Regions from separate parts of the Homo sapiens genome. Here region 2 is linked to region 1. The links are contacts of gene promoters, found by promoter capture Hi-C in blood cells and fetal thymus (Javierre and others, 2016). All regions are on one chromosome and are shown on one strand. The core of a region is centred on a gene start or on the middle of the fragment in contact, and the rest is flanking DNA. Distances in the headings are between cores, read along the strand shown.

What was found. The method cuts DNA at HindIII sites, captures the fragments that hold promoters and counts their contacts. A CHiCAGO score of 5 or more calls a contact.
Region 2: a contact is called between a fragment that was not itself captured here and the fragment with the promoter of LIX1L in region 1, in 2 of 17 cell types (erythroblasts and monocytes). The highest score is 9.4, in erythroblasts.

Annotation. Positions count from the first base shown.
Region 1 is chr1:145,954,960-145,960,398 of GRCh38, reverse strand. It overlaps LIX1L (limb and CNS expressed 1 like), which reads left to right and starts at 2,382. Exons shown (of 6, transcript NM_153713.3): 1 at 2,382-2,763. The coding sequence starts at 2,472. ANKRD34A (ankyrin repeat domain 34A) reads left to right here. Exons shown (of 4, transcript NM_001039888.4): 4 at 1-958. The coding sequence ends at 130. RefSeq lists silencers at 2,328-2,417, 2,448-2,727. The HindIII fragment of the contact is 5,249 bases long and covers 1-3,016 here.
Region 2 is chr1:145,875,847-145,881,285 of GRCh38, reverse strand. ANKRD35 (ankyrin repeat domain 35) reads left to right here. Exons shown (of 14, transcript NM_144698.5): 2 at 1,898-2,028; 3 at 2,807-2,895; 4 at 3,254-3,318; 5 at 4,413-4,470; 6 at 4,647-4,717; 7 at 5,040-5,146. Among named protein-coding and RNA genes, the nearest start is that of ANKRD35, 7.3 kb to the left of the region's middle. RefSeq lists an enhancer at 2,455-3,438. The HindIII fragment of the contact is 1,138 bases long and covers 2,004-3,141 here.

The sequences.
Region 1 (5,439 bases), core at 1,133-3,632:
TTATGCCGGGGCGCCAGGCTCTCCCAGGACCAAGCGCAAATTGGTGAGACGCCACTCCATGCAGACTGAGCAGATCCGCCTGCTGGGGGGCTTCCAGAGTCTAGGTGGGCCTGGGGAGCCAGGGCGCTGAGAGGAGTGAGAGGAGCCAAGGAGGGTGGGGATTAGGACCTTAATGGGATAGGTGGGAGAACCAGCTCACACACACACCACGAACAAAGGGATCTCTTGCATGTGCTCATGGGTGCACAGTGCACCCACACATGGTTAAACATGTGTCCATAAGCACAGTACTCTTATTAGCAAGAAAGAATAAGTACTCTATTTACTGGGTATATACACACATGTATTCATGCCCTGGTCATTTCACATGCATATGGGATTACTTGTGTACCTACAGGCACAGCATATCAATAAACACACAGGGCTAGGGTCCCAAACTCTCTTGCATTTGTTCAGAAGCAGTAGGGAACCCTTACTTATGGGCAGTCTCCGATGTCTTTGCCCTCCTGCAGAAGCAATCCCTTGCTTTCCATGTATGCCCTGAAACACAGCCTATCATGATTTTGCACACTCTCTCCGTGGACATCCCAGCCCATTCTGCAGGTCTTGCTTCTTTCTCCAGGCCTGGCTCCTTATTCACACCCTGCTTCTAACCCCAACCACTTTTCAGGATATCTTTTTCACTCTTCTTGGGGGTTCCTGCAGCAACCCCCAGCCTCAGTTCTGCTGCTGTCTTTACTGCTCTCAACTTCACTTCTCAACTTCCTGCTTTTTATTCCCACCCTGTTCCTCCAACAACTACAACAGATTGTCTCATTTTCCCAGGGGGTGGGTCATGGGCTCTAAGCTGCTCTTCTGTCTGTCTGAGCTTATGAACACCCCCACAGGTAGAAGTGGGGAGAAACCCTAAATCACTCCTCTCTCCACTTGACATATCAAATAAATGTGTTCAGAAGTCTCTGTTTTGTCACTTCTGCCTGGAGGTGTGGGTATGGGGAATGAGGAATGGGGAGGGAGGGTAACACTAACTTATAGCTATAATTATCCAAGGGATACTTAGCTGTTCCAGCCACCTTCTTTCCAAGAAACCAACTTTTCTATAGAGAAAAGGCAAGTGTCCTGTGTCCTGAAGATTTTAAGGCATTTGACAGGATTTCATTTCCTCCAGTTTCCTCTATGTCCAACCTTGAATTCTTTAAGGTTCCTACAAAGAGTTCCTCCCTCCATCATCAGCAGATATATCCCAGTAGATTAACTGTCTCCTTTTGAAACTTCCTATTTCTTGACTACTCACAGTTTTTATTCAGGGTCTAATTTTCATTTCACCAAGTGTGTTTCTTCTATTTTCTTCTACTTCTGGCCTCTATTTCCCCATCTTTGATTTCTGAGCCACTGTAGGAGAGATGGGGGGAAGCAGTTAATATAATCTCACCTAAGCAAAAATGGCCTGGTGACCACATGATAAAGGGTATGTAGAGTGTGTGTGTGTGCATGTGTGCAAGTGTGTGTGTGTGTGCAAAGTAATCAGAGGAACCCAGTCTGACATATTATACCAACAAGGGTAATTTTCTTAATTCCCCCAACTGGACTTCTCAGTTTGCTAATTTTCTGCATGTATCCTAACTCTTTCTCACTCTAATGGGAGGCAAAGAGACTTGCCCATCCCACTCTCTCTTATTCCCTTCCTCTACTTAGAATAAGTGAACTCAGAAATTTACCCAACAATGTGGCATAGTAAAAAGATAAAAATATTGGGAATCAGAACACCTATGCTTAAACTCTGAATTCCACTTTGCCATCTCTTAGCTATTTAATTTTGGCCATTTTTCTAGCTTCCCTCAGCATCTGTTTCCTTATCCCTAAAATAACAAAATCTAGTTAGTGATTGTGATTGTAAATAAGACATGCACTACAGTACATTGCATAGTTTATGTTCATTAAATGTCAGTATCTTTCTTGCCTTAGCTCCACCACCAATTGCATATGATGTTGGACAAGTCGAATTACTTCTCTGAGCCACAATATCCTCACCTGCAATCTGTGAAATGAAATGGTAGGACAAAATGATCTCTACTCTGTCTGCAATCCTCCCCAATCTTGCATCTAGGCCCATTTTTTTCTTCAAGCCCAGCCCCAAGATTCTGTCCTGCTTTCTAGTGCTTGCCACAGGACTCCCAAAGACGCGCCGAAGCTCTGCGTCTGCCTTTCAGAGGATACGCTTTTTCTCTTTGCAATTGGTTCTGAGAATCCCCACCCTCCTCAATAATTTGCCTATGGCGGAGCAGGAGCCCTCCAGCTCCCGCCCCATCACTGGTGATTGGCATGGGACCTAGCTCGTCCCCGCCCCCACTTGACTGAAGGTTCGGCCCTGGCACCGCCCTGAGTCCCCAGGCGCTAGCTGACTGGGGTGGTTGGGACCGTTAGCTCGGCAGGCTGGCAGGCTCCGGGGCGCTACTCCATTGGCGGCCGGGATGGAGACTATGCGAGCGCAGCGGCTGCAGCCTGGTGTGGGCACCAGCGGGAGGGGCACTCTCCGAGCGCTGCGGCCCGGAGTGACTGGGGCCGCGGCCGCCACCGCCACACCCCCTGCGGGCCCCCCGCCTGCCCCGCCGCCTCCCGCACCGCCCCCGCCGCCGCTGCTCCTGTCTGGGGCCCCAGGACTACCCCTGCCCCCCGGCGCCGCCGGCAGCCCGGCAGTGCTGCGAGAGGCCGTGGAGGCCGTGGTGAGGAGCTTCGCCAAGCACACGCAGGGCTATGGCCGAGGTGAGTCTGCGGGTCTGGCCTCCTGCGCGACACCCTCTGTAAGGGAGCCTTGCTCCCACAGTCCTCCGGATCGCTTTTCCTGGCGTGGAGCCCTCACATGCATTTCCTTTTGGGGAGTTTCCTTCTGGGCTACGCACACGCACAGACGCACACACTCATACACACGTTTAAGCCTCCTACCTCCTCCCCTTTACTGAGTTATTAATATATTCTCCAGGGACTCTTTTTCAGATACAATCCTCTTTTCTTCCTAAGCTTTTCTCCTTTAGAAATGGAATTCCTCCTCCAGCTTAATACCTTAACATCTCTCTGCCTTTGAGAACCAGTCCTCATTGTGTGGGATCCTGTCTTTTATTTCAGATCCAATTTCTCATCCATACCCTCTCAGTCTTTCCTCTGTGATCTCTGCAATTCCTGGACTCACCTGTTAATTTGCTCCAGCCCCTTAACCTTGACTGTTAAATTCTTTACTTACTTACCTTCACTCTGAAATTTCAGTGCAACTTCAGATTTACTGGGGAACTAGGTAGTGCCTTCACAAGTCACTCATAGTAATTGTGTATTTAAATCCGGACCTGTACCACTGAACTCACAGCAGCTTCCTGTGGCTCAGTACCTTACTTTGGTATCTTTTTTAGTATGGAGACTCACAACTCCAGCCTTTCTGTCTGGCTGTGTTTTCCTGGCCCTTGCCCAGGAACTGAGGATAAATCCCAGGCCTTGGCTCTTTCAATGTTAAATTCTGTGGAAATGTGCCAGGTTAGAAACTCTATTTCAGTTAGAAAACTTCGTTAATTTCTGGAAAGAGGGATGTGAGGGTTTTCTTTGTTGTTTTCGTTTAACTAGGGTAGTTTCCTGTCTGAGTTTGAGTTCCAGATTTATAGTGTAAGTAATAAGGAATATATAGTGAAGGGTGTGGAATACAGAATTTAAGCCTGGAATTTACAAGACATCCCTTCTGTCTGCTTGGCCAGGTCCTGCCTGACCTGGAAGTGACTATATCTTTAACTTTCTGTTTAACAATAATACAGAGAAAAGTTACAGGGCTTTTCTGTAGATTTTCTTTTTTTAAGAAAGTTTAGTGAAAAGAGCACACACAGGCTTTGGAGATCTTTGTCACTTACCAGCCAAATCTTTGGGGAAGGGACTTAATTTCACTGAGCTTCAGTTTCTTCAAGGGTTACAATATGGATTGACTGAGACATTGCAAATGACATATAACCTAAAAATGATTATTATCTCAAATTTGTTGGTTCATAGTTCCTTAAGTAGAACATGCTTCACTTTTTCCCACTCTTAAATCCTAATAATGTAAACCCAAAAATTCCTATGAAAACAGATTTTTAGAGCCATTTTGCTATATGTGCCTAATGATTCATTCATCATCAATTTCCCTTTGTTCTTCATACAATTTGAACTCCTATTATAAGACAGGAACTCTGCTAGGTGCTGGGGATACAAATGGATGAATCTGAAACTCATGAGGAAATACTATTTTTCCAATGTAATCCCAAGATTTAACAAGGCTATGTGATGGAACTGCTATTAGCTACTATCCTGCTGCTTCAAGTCTCTAAGTCAAGATCAAGGGAAGGTCTTTGCCTCTGGGCACAGGAGTAGCCTAGAGTGGTCACACTAAATCTGAAGCCTTCCTCTTGGCAACTTACAGGCATTTATTAAAATTATAGAAGAGTACACCCTTTTTCTTGTCTGTGTTACCTGGAGAGCCTCTGCTTTGGCTCCCAAACTGGACATCCTGTAAAAACTTTCATTTCCTTAGCAAGGATGAGGGAACAAGGGGATTGTACTGACAAAGGGCAATTAATCAGGCTTCACACTTCGTGGTGATTTTCTTTCCTATCTCCCCACCTCCCATCGCAGTCTTTCTCATTATTCTTGAGTTTCTCATTTCCAGTCTGAGTGTCCAGCCAGTACTTTAGGAAAGTCTGGCAGATAGTTCAGCTTCAGGCAAGCAGAATCTCTGCCCATTTGGCTCAGAAGTCCTTTACCACATGGAATCACTTATTCTGCTTCAATTCTTAGGCAAAGCTGCCACTGGCATATATTCACATACCCTTGTGACTGATGGCATGTTATTTGGGGGAATGGCTGTATTCCCCTGAATACAATTTACTTTAGCCTCTGCCTAGACAATTCATTCCCTCATCCAGCAATGCTTTACCACATCATCTTCAATTAACATCCTTCATCTTCTTCCTGAATGCTCCAAATCCACCTTTTCCAATCAGTCTTTAGATCTACCTTCACTCATGTGGGCTATCAGTATGTATGTATATATGTATGTATGTATGTATTTACTTATTTATTTTAAAAAGCTTTCCTGTCCTTTATCTGCCTCCCTCACCCACTTACCCAAGATACACACACAGCTCAGTATTCTGTAGGATCTTGATAAGTTTGTAGTGCATGGGATTTGTAATCAGAGGACCTAGCCCTGTCAAATAGTTGGCTGTGTGATCTTGGAGAAGTTGCTTAATCTCTCTATGCTTCATCTGTTCTCTTCATTCATTTACCAAATATTTATTGATCACCAGATGCAGTGGTGGACAAGGCAGATATTTAGTCCCTATCTTGATGGAGCTCACAGTTTACATTACAGAGCATGTATAAAGATTAATGGTGTAGTAAAGCAGGCCAGCCCAATACAAAGAGGGT
Region 2 (5,439 bases), core at 1,323-3,822, 79 kb after region 1:
GAGATGGAGTCTTGCTCTTGTCACCCAGACTGGAGTGCAATGGTGCAATCTCAGCTCACTGCAACCTCCACTTCCCAGGTTCAAGCAATTCTCCTGCCTCAGTCTCCTGTAGCTGGGATTACAGGCACCGGCCACCACCCCCAGCTAATTTTTTGTATTTTTAGTAGAGACGGGGTTTCACCATGTTGGCCAAGCTGGTCTTGAACTCCTGACCTCAGGTGATCCACCCGTCTTGGCCTCCCAAAGTGCTGGGATTGCAGGCGTGAACCACCGCACCCAGCCATGGCCTGGATTCTAATTCCAATTTTGCCACTCTTTTTCGTGATCTTGAATGGTTATCTAATCTTGGTATACTTCTGTTTCTTCTGTCAAAGAGATGGAATAATAGCCCTAGCTACTTTCCAGGGATGTTGAGAGACTAATTGAAATAGCATGTGAAAGGACTGTGAGAAGTTACAACTTCTGTACAGGAGTATTACCTCAGAATCCATCTACCTTAGATAATTTTATGGTTTGGATATTTAGAGCTTTCCTGTGGTTGATTAATAATTTGCCCTGGCTACGTAAACAGTGTTTGAAAATGAGTTACTGGGCTTCCACAGACCCTATTTTTCTTCACCCCTTTCTATAGCCTCTTGTTGAGATTATACCTTATAAAATGCTATGTGCCACCACCAACACCCCACTACTTCCTGTTTTGTTACAAGGATGCCATATATTTGTATGGCTCTTTACAGTTTATAAAGAGATTTTGTATATATTAGCTTGTTTAATAGTCACAGCATGATGAGGTAGTTGTTATTAGCCGTATTTTATAGAAGAGGAAACAGGTTAAAGGTGTTTAATGGCTTACTTTAGGTCACATAGCCGAGAATGTAGCTGAACTAGGTCCCAAACTCAGGCCAGCCAGCGAAATATTTGTCTGGCAGCCTTTACATCAGACCACAGATCTTTGCATCTGTCTCTTCCTTTTCATTCCCTTCTCTGGACAAAACCAGGCTTTTCTGTACTTTCAGCCCTGGGTGTTTTTACATAGCTGTCTCTTTTATGCCCTATAACACTTCAATTATTATAATTACCCTACCACCCACAAAACCCAAGCTGGAATGATAGAACAATGCATGCCCAGGTGTGGCTGTTGTCTAGACAGCTGCTCCCTGCCAGGGAAACTGGGAGGGAGGAGAAGGGGAGCTACCTCTTGCTGCTTCCTCAAACATAACTAGAAACCTCTTTGCCTTTTGGTTGTTGTTGCCATGGAAAGGAGAGAGACGGTCGCCAAAGGGCCTAGATATGATATGGGAAAACAGAAACTCTAGTTTCCTCTTTTAACTGTGGGGCCCAAAGCCAATGAAAAGAGGTGGAATGGTTAGGTATTGGAACTCCTAGCTGTAACCTGAAGCTCGGTGCCTTAATGTACTTCTCAAACAACTGACAACAAAAAGCAGAGCAGCAGGGTTTCAGGGGTGGAGGCGGTGGTGAGAGGCAACATGAGTCCTCAAAAGTGGTCACGTTGGTTCCATTTGCTCCAGCAAGACCTAGAGAGCAAAAGGGAAAGGATTGCTCTGAGGTTGGGCACTGAACAACAACTCTAATCATGATGACAAAAGGACATTTGAAATACTGTGCATTCAGCACTCAAATGATTTTTAATTCAGTGGTCCAGGGTCCTTCTGGCTCAGGGCTGGAAATAACCAGCAATAGTTCTTGGTGGCATATTAGCTGGTTAAGATTTAGCTAGGCCCACCTAAGAAGGACTAAATGATCTAGGATGTGTGACTTGTGGAAGAGAAAAAGGGATGTTCCTTTTCTCTCATTTGGCATCCTAACCATTTGCCTCTTTTCTTTCTCCACACTACCCTCATGCCCTATATTCACACAACCTGTGGCTCTGGACCAGGTGGAGAGATGGAACCGCCATGATCAGAAGCTGCTGGAGGCAGTGCACAGGGGGGATGTGGGACGCGTGGCTGCCCTGGCCTCCAGGAAATCTGCCCGACCCACCAAGCTTGACTCGAATGGCCAGTCCCCGTAAGTCAGTCCTCCTGCCCCTGCCCCTTACATGTGGCTCCCTTTTGAAGCCCCCAAATCCAATATAACATAGGACCAGGGAATGCCTACAACTTCAGAGCTCTTTTCATTGTCTTAATTAGCAAGTATATCAATAGTTTTTTGCTACATATAAGTTCTACACAAAGTGAGGAAAGAAAATATTGTTCCTGAGCTCCATCCATTGCACAACCCAGATTGACACCACTGACTTGTAAAGTACATAAAGCCCATTAAACAAACAGAAAATGAATATATACACTAAGTAGAGTGTTTCTTCATTGCACAAGTAGGAGGGTGTGTATGCATGGGAAATTTGAAATGAAGTGGTAGCATGGGAGTCACATGGCTAGAGGGAGTAGTGATTAAGTCAAAGGAAATGTTATCCCTTGTCTCTACCCAAAGCCTTCGAATGTCCAGCCTTCACTCTGCTCTGGCTGACTCTTTCTGTGACACTTCCACTTCCGCTAAGGTTCTGTGCTCAGAGAGGCAGGTAATTATGTGTTCCCTAGACACCCCTGCAATAGTCTGAGATTCCTTGAGACCTGTAGCTCTTATTTCTTCCTTGCTTTTAGCATCCTTTGTGATTGGAGGCCATATAGACTTCTCTTTCTCAGAAATTCAAGCTAGGGGAGCTTCTTTTCCTGCTTTTAGGATTGGCTTTGGGGTAGGGAGCATAGCAAGAAGGGCTTATCAAGATTCTCCCATTCCTCATCCCTGGTCCCTTTATCCTTTGGCCTCTCGGCCTTGATTCTGGCAGGTTTCATCTGGCAGCCTCCAAAGGCCTGACAGAATGTCTGACTATCCTGCTTGCAAATGGGGCTGACATCAACAGCAAGAATGAGGATGGTGAGTGAGCCGGAGCACTGGGCCACGCTGCTTGCTTGCCCCTGGTACAGCAGCAGTCGGGGGCGGTGCTGGGCCCTGCTGGACATTCCTACTGTGGCCCCTTGCTTCTCTCCTTAGTAAGTTCTGGCCAGCATCCTTCCAGGAGTTCCCCTCCCCGTAAGCTGGGCACACCTCACCCCCACTCCCACCTTCATCACAGGTACCAGGCACTTGGGGAACAGGAATTTCTGGCCCCGTGTGGCTGAAAGCTTCTCTCCCTAATCTCCTGATTATCTGTGCGTCTCTTGCCTTCCCTCCCTGTGAGTCATCAGCATGCATGGGGCCACCTACCCTCCTTCTCCCCTTCTTTCTGTTCCAGGAAGCACTGCCCTACACTTGGCCACCATCTCCTGCCAGCCACAGTGTGTTAAGGTTCTGCTTCAGGTAAGAGCAGTCCCTTGATACCACTCTTATGAAGGGAAGAAGTGGTCCCAGAGTTTTCTAACTTCATTTCATACTTAAAAGGAATAGTTGGCCAAATGTACTCGCCTCATCCCCAATAGGAGGGCTGATAATCATTTGTTTGCCAACATTTATTTAACTACTATGTGCAGGCACCATGTTTGATAGTGCCTTTGAGGGCAGGTTATAAAGCAGAGTTGCCAGGCACTATCGATTTTGTCATTAGCAGAGCCACTGCAGAGACTTCCTGCTATGATGAGGGGCAAGAGGAAGGAGGACAGAGATGTTCAAATTAAACCAAAGCCCTACTGTCTGTTTCTGAAGAGTTTATAGTCTAGTAGTATAAAGAGAAATATACATGTAAAATGACATGTGGATCATTTATAAATGAGTCTCCAAAAGCACAAAAGGCAGTTACTGGCCGGGTGCGGTGGCTCATGCCTGTAATCCCAGACTTTGGGAGATGGAGGTGGGCAGATCACAAGATCAGGAGATCGAGACCATCCTGGCTAACACAGTGAAACCCCATCTCTAATAAAAATACAAAAGATTAGCTGGGTGTGGTGGCACGTGCCTGTAGTCCCAGTTACTCGGGAGGCTGAGGCAGGAGAATCGCTTCAACCCAGGAGGCGGAGGTTGCAGTGATCCAAGATCGCACCACTGCACTCCAGTCTGGGCAACAGAGAGAGACTCTGTCTCAAAAAAAAAAAAAAAAATCAGTTATCTTAACCGGCCATCAGGCAAATGGATGTTCTACTTTCGTTCTTCCTAATCCTTTCCAAATTTCACAATTATGTTTCTAAAGTACCAGCCACGGGGACATTGGGTGTCATTTTCCCTAACACGTTTATTACCATCTGATTTTTCTTAGCCCCTTGGTTTAGAAACCAGGGCTGATATTCAAGGCTGCCTATCATCAGCAATGGATGAACTGGGCTTGCCTAGTAGATAGCCTTCTCCAAAGTGGACCTCCTGCCCCTCCTCATATTACCATGGAAATTGGTGACCCAATGGGGGTATGGGATGAGGATGTTAACACCAAGCTCCATGCTGCTTCCCTTTGTGGCCATTTGCAGCATGGTGCTAATGAAGATGCTGTGGATGCAGAAAACCGTAGTCCATTGCACTGGGCAGGTGTGTGCAGGGGACTCATGGGAACAGGGCTGCAGAGACTACAGGGTGGGAAAGGGGAGGCGTGAGGAGGGAAGGGCAGCCAGGGCCAACCAATGAAATGGTCGGAGGGGATGTTGGGTCATAGTCTGAGTAGGCTTTCTTCATGCTTCCCCTTAACCCAAACATCTTCTCCCCAGCCTCCTCTGGCTGTGCCTCAAGTGTGCTCCTGCTGTGTGACCACGAAGCCTTCCTGGACGTGTTGGATAATGTGAGTGTCAGATGGGCAAGTGGGCAGTGTCCTACACAGAAGGGCTGCTGCTGTCTCTCAGCTTGACTGGCCAACTTCCACGACCTAGGGCTGTGTTAGCACCACCCTTCTCTTCCTTCTCCTCCTGCTTCTCCTCTTCTTCCTCACAGAGAGGTTAAGCCTTATCTTCTGGAGAGCTTCTAACCCTCCAAAAGGGAGTGTTCAGACCCAAGATCTGGGCTTTTATTTTTTTTGGACAGGTGTGAGGGGAGGGGAGCCGGTAGGATTGTCAAGCCTCTGCAGTCCCTGGCTGCTCATGAACCTCTTCCTACAATCTGTGCAGGATGGACGTACACCCCTGATGATCGCATCGCTGGGTGGGCACGCAGCTATCTGCTCACAGCTGCTGCAGCGAGGCGCCCGAGTTAATGTTACAGACAAGAATGACAAGTGAGCCCCCCTCGTCTATGCACCCCAATTCCCATGCCTGACCAATTTAGAAAGAAGCCAGTGGGCAACGTGTGTGTGTGTGTGTTTGTGTGTGTTGGGGAAGAAGTCAGGTTGGTCTTTGTGTTCTTGGGAACCTCATTCCTTCCCAGTGGAGGTTCTGAAGAGCTCTGCCTGCTGCCACCACCATCTTCATAGATAGATGACCCCAGAAGTAGAATCGACACTTCTGGACCCGTTGGCTGAATTTACTGGTTGTCAAATTATCTTTTATGCAAGAGGATCCTTTTTTCCAA